Linked DNA regions of Homo sapiens: region 1 is linked to region 2. Evidence: promoter capture Hi-C in human tissues and cell types (Jung and others, 2019). All regions are on one chromosome and are shown on one strand. The core of a region is centred on a gene start or on the middle of the fragment in contact, and the rest is flanking DNA. Distances in the headings are between cores, read along the strand shown.

Region 1 (4,551 bases), core at 1,017-3,516, 220 kb after region 2:
GGCTCCTATTGCTTACCTACAACAGCATAACAAATTCCTTTTCGTGAAACACAAGGCACTTGCTTGAATCTCACTCATAAATATCGCCTTCATGGCCTCCTTAGTAGTAGCATTAATCTGGTACCCTCCTGACTCTCCCGCCTTACCTCTCACCCCTCCTTACATATCACGTTGCAACCACAACGAACTACTGATCGCTCCCCAAATGGTTCCTATCTCATTACCTTTGCTTGTGCTTTCTCTGTCTGAAATGCCCCGGCTGCTTGAAAGCACCCAATTCATCTTTTCAAGCCTCCACTTTTATAAAGCCTTTCCTCTTTTATAAAGCCTTTCAATAGATCTCTCCACTCCCAGGACCTACAGAACTGACCCCTTTATCCCATTGTATATGGTTTTATCACAGTCCATACAAAACTTAATTGCACTTATTTATTTAGATGTTCATTTCCCCCTGCTAGCCTGAGTGCTTCGAGGATGGAGACTATTTTACTCCATCAGACCCAAGTACCTAACATAGACCTTGGCAAGTATAAAGCACTCAGTAAATGTTTGTTGAATGAATGCAGTAAGAATGAATGAACACATGAGTAACAGAATTTATACCTTGGACTCTAGGAGGATACCTTGGGAGCCTTCTCCTTAATCCCAACAATGCTGCAACCGTTCGAAACATGTTTGGAATGTCTTTCTTGGAGTGGCTTTCAAAGGCACTTTCTGGACCATGCAAGACAGTTGCTCAATCTTTACTATTCATTTAACAAATAGTTTACACCTCTATTATCTTGGACTACTCAGAAGTTTTAGTTCCAAATAACCTTAGACTAGATCCTAAAAGCAAATTAATGTTTAAAATACACGTGAAGATTTGTCATCCTGGGAGGGATCCCAAAGGCTCATCTCAGGATTCAAGATGCATGGCTTTTCCAAAATGCTTTTTGCAGTATCACAATCATTGGAAGGGATTTACAGTCTCTCAAGGTGACCACTGAGAATGCTCATTCTGCTGTGAAATTTCTTATATGTTTTCTAAAGAATGCTAGAATCATTAGCATAGTGAAATCCAATATAGCAGATCTTGTATTCAGAGTGACAAAACTCCAAGAAATGGGTTGTCAAATGATGTTTACCATAAAACAGCAACAACAACAAAATCTGCTCTTCTATAGACATGTGGACACTAGCATCTTGCTTGAATGCACCAGGGGCAAGTGGAAGAGAGACAAATAGTGAGCAAGAAGCCACGGGTCTGTCTGTTCCAGCCCAGCTCTGCTTCCAATCTGTATAACCTTAAACACATCAGATATCCTTCTAGGCCTTGGGGTTTTTTAATAAAATAAAGTAATTGAAATAAGTAATTGAGGATTCATTTAGTTCTGAAATAATTCCCTCTCTCTGCATTCACCCAACAGAAATGTCTGCATTTTAAAAGAGAAGCAAGGGAAACCTCTAATAAGTAGGCCATGAAGGAGATATGTATGAGTGAGCTCAATCTCTTAATTAGTTGGGGGAGAGGAAAAGATGATTTATGAAAATCATCTTTGCAGCAACTATCCACTCACACCCCAGCCCCCCTTCCATCAAAGTTAACTAGGGGCTCGATTAGAAATAATGAAAAGAAAATTGGGTTTACAGAAACAAAGAAAGTTTTTTTTTGTTTTTTTTTGTTTTTGCTATTTTAAGTTTTTTAAATTATAAGCTCCTTGAGGACTGGAATATTGTCATTTGCATTCTTTTGTCTTCCCATATCACCTACTAGAAGACCCCGTAGTAACTGTTCAATGAACATATGTTGGTTAATATTACCATATTTACTCATTTACACATCTATATGCTCTACCAGACTATGAAAGCTTTGAGGACAAGGGCCGTGTCTTATACCATCTTTGAATTCCTAGTGTCTAGGTGCATGTCAGCTTCTACTATTACTCACTCAGTTATCCGATATCAGAGTGCTTGTGCTGTGGTGGTCACTATGCTAGGGGCTAGGGATACAGAGTGAATAATATAGATACACACGGTCCCTGTTCTCAGGGAGCTCACATTCTAATGGAGGAAAGAGACAATGAAGATTTAACAAATTAAATACTTCCAAATTTTCACAAGTGCTCTAAAGAAACCCAGCAGAATATGGAGCTAATGGTTATTAGAGGGATGCTCCCTCAATGAAGGGGAAGGTATCTCTAAAGAGGTGATATGTGGTTAGAATGGGGCAATGTGGGTGGATAAATGATGCATTTAGGAAAAGCAGCCAGGACTGGGGATGGGAATGGGGAGGTGAATACCTCTCCCTAAGACAGGATGTGCCCCCCAAGTACCCTGGGACAGGATCTCAGGCCTGTCCCAGGGCAGTTAGGAAACTACTCTGAAGCAATGTTATTTTGGGAAGTATATATATTTTAAAAAAGCCTGCTGCCCTCCCCAAGTCATCCCTAAAGTATCTCTGCTAAAATTACTCACTGGTCTCACTGACACCACATCCACCTCCGTGGTGCCCCGGCTGCCCAATAGAGGTCAGCACCAAGTTCACATTTCACACCCTCGTGCTCAAGGCTTTGTCACTCCACCTCTGCCCCAGGAGTCCTTTTCTCATTTCTGCCTCACTTGGGCCCACTGCTGCCCAAGCCCATCTTTCATCAACTCTATTTATTGTCCCCCTGCCACTTATCAACCACAAGTGGAAGTGCAGAGGAAACACTGTAAGGACACACGAAACAGCTTCAGCACTGGGGGGGACGTGGATGGGGAACAAAAGCATCAGACAGACAAGCTGCATCAGGCTCTGGAAGGTGGGCTCTTAAATTCTGCTGTAAAAGTCCAACACTAGAAGTTCAAAGACTTTTTTTTTTTTTTTTTTTTTTGAGACAGAGTCTCGCTCTGTTGCCCAGGATGGAGTGCAGTGGTGCAATCTCAGCTCACTGCAACCTCCACCTCCTGGGTTCATGCAATTCTCCTGCCTCAGCCTCCTGAGTAGCTAGGAGTACAGGTGCCTGCCACCACGCCCGGCTAATTTTTTTTGTATTTAGTAGAGACAGGGTTTCACCATGTTGGGCAGGCTGGTCTCCAACTCCTGACCTCAGGTGATCAGCCCACCTTGGCTTCCCAAAGTGTTGGGATTACAGGCGTGAGCCACCGCGCCTGGCCGACTTACTCTCTTATAAATGTTTCTTTTAAATGTTTCCATAGGCAAGCTATAATCCCCTGTGAAAGGAAAATAAATCTTGGGACCCCCAAAATCAGTAAGCCAAGGAGAAAAGTCAAGCTAGGAACTTCAACATGCAAACCTGCCTCCCATTCAAAGATGAAAAAGGTACATACCTCCCTCACAATTTGCCCACTTGAAAATTCCTTGGGGGCCCCAAGTTCTTCACCCTAAAACAGTTCTGTTGAATTTCACCCTGACAATATAAATTGATAGCTTATCTTCACAGGTACAGGACAAAGGACAGAACTCAAAGTCATCCCTTGGCTCACCTGAGAAATGCGTATCTGATTGCTTCCTCTGCCCTAATTATCTTATGTAAAAATGCAGATTCACTGAACTAGATGAATGCATAAGTAACTATTCCTCTACCCCCTCTCACATGTGAACAAAGAATGCAACCATTTGCCTCTTACCTACCCATACCTTTTCAAAATCTCTTCCCCTTTCCCCACTATCCACCCTTTCCCCTTAAAATATGAAGCCCTCAAAATCATCTTTGGAGAAAGGTACAGACCTGTCTCCCAGGCATGCATCCTTAACCTTAGCAAAATAAACTTCTAAATTGATTGAGACCTGTCTCATACTTTTTGGTTTGCACCCCTTTCAAAACCTCCCTTTCTGAAAAGTGAAGCGGGTAGAAGAAAACACATCTAACATCTCTTCCTATGCTATGCTTCTCTAGAAACCAAGAGTTGAAGTCAAATCACTGGAAATTTTAGTAGGGAAACCTGCAAACAGCCAGTGTCAAACTCAGAAACCTCATTTGCCAAAATAAATATGATAACAGTAAGCATTGTAGGGTACAATAATACAGTGTTTAAGGAGATGATGGGCTCAGATTCTGGTTCTGCATACTAGATACCTCTCAGTGTTTATTCCCTTGTCTGAAAAATAGGGATAAGTATAGACTCCACCTCTTAGAAGTGTAATCAGACATAAATAAGACAATCTACATAAAGTACTCAGGACAATGTAAGCACTCAATAAAATGACAATTACTATTAATAATACCCCTGCTTACTGCGTGTCAGGCACCATACTCAGTGCTTTATCTGGGCTCCCTCTGTGATGTACCCAACAAATCTGTTTATGTAATAAGAGCCCCAGAGGATTCTGAGAACCAGCTGGATTTGGCAAACACTTCCATTCCGCAAATCGTATCAATTCGGTCACACCTTACCTAGTGCTTTGCAGATCTGTTTACACAGAATTTTCACAGGTATAACCTGGTACCCAACTACTCTAAGATCTCAACTAACTCCTAATGAACTCTGGTCACCCTTCCCTACTTACTACTTCACCCTAGCATTTCTAGAGTACACACAACTGACAAACCAATTTCCTAATCA
Region 2 (4,199 bases), core at 1,244-3,743:
TGATTACTTAACTGTGTAACAAGGCAAATGTGAGTAAGACAACCTCCCTGCCTGCAAGGAGCTCACGTTCTTTCCAGGTAAACAGAACACAAGTCCACAAATACATCTGTTCATTTACTCATTCATTCAGTAAACATTTACACCTGTATGGCTGGACTCTGCTGGGTGCTGAGGATTCAGTGGAGACCTGGATCCTATCCTTGCCTCCAGGGCTTGTGATAAATGACCTAGACTAGTGAGTTTCCAACTTTATCTGCCCTGGAGTTTTGATTCAGTACAGTTGGGTTGGAGCTTGAGACTGTGCATTTCTACCAAGCTCCCATCTGGTGCTGATACTACTGGTCTGTGCACCACGCTTTGAGTAGCCAGGATCTAAACCGGTGGTTCTCAAAGTGTGGCCCCACAGCCATCAGCATAACCTGTGGGTTATTAGAATTGCAAATTCTTTCTGACTCAGCGATCCTCCCACCTCTGCCTCACAGTAGCTAGGACCACAGGCATGCACCACCACCACACCTAGCTAATATATATTTTTTAAAGAGATGGGGTCTTACTATGTTGCCCAGTCTGGTCTTGAACTCCTAGGCTCATGCAATCCTCCTGCCTCAGCCTCCCAAAGTGTTGCGATTACAGGCGTGAGTCACTGTGCCTGGCCAGAAATGCAATTTCTTGAACCCCATCCCAGGCCTATTGGCCCAGAAACTGGGGGTAAGACCCAGTGATCTGTGTTTTAATGAGCCCTCAGGTGATTCTTATGGGTACTCAGCTTATGTTAGAACCCATATCATGGAGCCAGGATGGGGTATGTAGCAACTTTAAGGAATGAGAAGAAACTATCTGGGAGAAAGCATGCCAAGCAGAGGGCACAGCATGTGCAAAATTCTGGATGCCTCAAAGGCTGGATGAGGGTGAGCCTGGAGAAGCTGTGTGCAGTCAGTCTGCCGTGGCTAGATTATGAGACGAACATATCTTGAATGCCGGCTATGGAGCTGGGACTTTGTCTTGCGTATGTGTGTGTATTAGGGGTGGGGAGGGGTAAGTATTTTTGTTGGTGGCCCTGAATGGCTCAGCTCTGCCCACCTGTCCAGCCCCATCTGCCTCATTCTTGTCCCCTGGGCCCCCACTACACAGTCCTCCTTCAGTCCCTCTGGCTTGCTATGTGACTTCCCACTGTGGGGTTTTGCACATGCTGTTCCTCTGCCTCAAACACTCTTCCCTACCCACTTTCCTTCCACCCGTCAGTTCTCGACTCAAACTGATCAGTTTCCTCCAGCACTGAGTATGGGACCTCCTATGATTTTTAAAAAATTTTTATTTATGTATTTATTTATTTATTTTAGACAGAGTCTCACTCTGTCACCCAGGCTGGAGTGCAGTGGCGCGATCTTGGCTCACTGCAACCTCTGCCTCCTAGGTTCAAGCTTCAGCCTCCTTAGTAGCTGGGATTACAGGCATGTGCCACCATGCCCAGTTAATTTTTGTATTTTTAGTAGAGACAGGGTTTCGCCATGTTGGCCTGGCTGGTCTCGAACCCCTGACCTCAGGTGATCCACCCGCCTCGGCCTCCCAAAGTGCTAGAATTACAGGTGTGAGCCACTGCACCCGGCCCTTCTATGCAATTTTACATTAACTTATTTATTGCTTTAAAAAAAGAAATACCTGGTGCATAATAGGCACTCAATAAATGTCTATTAAAAGAACAAACTAAGAGAAAACATGCACGTATGTCTTGGCTCCCTTCTGAGCCCTCTGTGATTCATGTGGGCACCTTTTAGAACAGCCCGGACATATGTTTCTGGTGGGGGTGGGGTAGAGGGGAGGGTGGAAATGGGGGTAAGATGGAAGTTAAAATCAGAGCGCCTCCCTGAACTCCAAAGACAACCAGGTGAGACACCCAGAGAAGCATACTAGAAAACTTCAGAGTCAGAAGGGGTGAGGGGAATGGCTTCTGGCTGACGCCTTACATACGCCCTTGTAGAAAGGTGGGAGGGGCAGGGGGCAGGTGGGAGACTCAAGCCTGTGTAGGCAACATCCTATCGGAATTGCCCTGGCTGAGTCCTTCTGTTTGGGGCAGTGACGAGCAGGAGAATGGATCTGCTGGGTGTCTGTCTGTCCGTCTGTCTGAGAGGCTGCAGGAGGGAGCTGCGGGGAACACCAGGGAAGCAGGTGTGGAGAATCTCCCAAACTGAGTCCGTCTGGCCAGGTTTCCTGAGAAGGTCCCTGTCTGTCCACGTTAGGGATGCCAGAGGCCACTGAGAGTGGAGAAACAGGGAGTTTAGAGCCTGACTGTCTGGCTGTCCAAGAGTGGGAAGGAAGTTACTTCCAAATGAGAAGAAAGGCTCCACTTATGCCCCTCGCTACCGACCCCCCACCCCGCCCCAGTTTGCCCCCTTCCCCAGCTTTGGGGACATTCCTCTCCCTTCGTCCCTCCCAACCTCCCACCTACCTTCTTCCCTTTCTTGACTTCATATTCCATGGTGAAATGTCCCCTCTACTCCTGCCACCCTCCTGGCCATCCCTTCCACCCCCACATCCAGTTCCTTTGTTCTTTTTCCTGCCTGGTCGGAAACTCCACCAGCCCTGGAGTTCCTGCCCCTCCCATCTGATGGGGAGGGCAGGGGGTGTGGAGGACACAGCCTTGGGACCCTGCAGCTGAAGGGTGGAAGCCCAGGCAGAGCTGACCTGAGGAGGGAGGCTCAAGGCCTCTAGCCAGAAGGCGGGTTATTGGGGGAGCTTGGGAATTGGCCAAGGCTGGGAAAGGGCCCCCCACATTTGAAGTCCTGGTTTGGAAAATTCCAAGTTCCAGCCCTACTTCTGCCACTGACCTTGTTGTGTGACCTTGGCAAGGCAAGTCAGTTCCCCCTGTCACAGCCTGTTTCCCCCTCCTCTCTATAAGTTGGGAGTCAACACTGCCTCCCTCCCTAGGCTGCTGTGGTGAGAAATGAAAAGGTGGATGGAAAGTGCCTTATAGAGAGTATTGTAGCCAAGCAAGTTATGATTTTAAAAAATTAATCATTACTATTAAGGGAGGCAGTATGCGTGGGCTTTGAAGATAGGCTGCTTGAATTCGAATCCTGGCTTTGGCACTTACTAGGGTTATGACCTTTGGGAAGTCCCTTAACCACCAGTGCCTCAGTTTTCCCGTCTTTAAAATGAGCATAATACTAGTTTAACCTCATAGTGACCTTGCGGGGATTAAATGCACCTAGAAGAACTTCTGGCACATATTAAGTACTCAGTAAGGCTGGGCGTGGTGGCTCACACCTGTAATCCCAGCACTTTGAGAGGCTGAGGCAGGCAGATCACCTGAGGTGAGGAGTTCGAGACCAGCCTCGCCAACATGGTGAAACCTTGTCTCTACTAAAAATACAAAAATCAGCCGGGTGCGGTGGCACATGCCTGTAATCCCAGCTACTCTGGAGGCTGAGGCAGGAGAAGCGCTTGAACCTGGGTGGTGGAGGTTGCAGTGAGCTGAGATCCAGCCATTACACTCCAGCCTTGGTGACTGGCTGAGACTCCATCTCAAAAAAAAAAAAAAAAAAAAAAAAAACTGAAAAAAAATAAGTGCTCAGTAAACATTAACTGTTTACCTGCTTAGTGGTTGTCAAATTAAAGAACAAACAGAGGCTCTCTAAAATAAAAGATGTTTCACTTAGGAATTAAGCATTGCAGTGGGAATTACCCATATGCCATAGTAAGCGATGTGCATTTTCAGGGAGGTGGGGGGAAGACAAAGATTTTTAAAGGAAAAAAATAAGGATTACATTATTGTTTCTGAAATAATTATTCTTGATTGCAAAGATCAATAGCAAGGGTGATGCCAGTCTAAAGTTGGACAGGCAGTTGCTGGGCAGATGTCCTTGCGGAAGTATTTTTTGTGCAAGGTTTCAATGGCCTTTGTGCAAGGTTGTGATTTTTGTAGTCTTTTTTGTTATCAGTCTTGTTGTTATCTGTTTTGTTATCAGTCTTATTTGTTATGCAAGCATGAAAACCCTCTATGGCCTTCCCCAGCTCTATTTGTCAAGGTTTTCTTAACATTAGTGACTCCATTTTTATTCTGACCATGTTCATAGGGTCTTGAGCTGTTTTGCTCTCTTGGGAGTATATTAGGGAGGCAAGGTCCCCTTTGTGGCTCTGTGCTGAACACTTTACATATTTTAACTTACTCACAGTGTTGAGTACCATGATAGTACCTATTA

The links. The method cuts DNA at HindIII sites, captures the fragments that hold promoters and counts their contacts. A contact is called where the count stands out against the background at its distance.
Region 1: a fragment that was not itself captured here is called in contact with the fragment with the promoter of CCM2L in region 2 in 2 of the 25 tissues and cell types used here (H1 embryonic stem cells and bladder).

The regions. Positions count from the first base shown.
Region 1 is chr20:31,786,725-31,791,275 of GRCh38, reverse strand. The region is part of intron 12 of TPX2 (TPX2 microtubule nucleation factor); the gene reads right to left. Among named protein-coding and RNA genes, the nearest start is that of MYLK2, 30 kb to the left of the region's middle. RefSeq lists an enhancer at 2,521-3,020. The HindIII fragment of the contact is 7,543 bases long and covers 1-4,551 here.
Region 2 is chr20:32,008,732-32,012,930 of GRCh38, reverse strand. It overlaps CCM2L (CCM2 like scaffold protein), which reads right to left and starts at 2,493. Exons shown (of 10, transcript NM_001365692.1): 1 at 2,447-2,493. The coding sequence starts at 2,476. RefSeq lists enhancers at 642-1,233, 2,144-2,671. The HindIII fragment of the contact is 15,048 bases long and covers 1-4,199 here.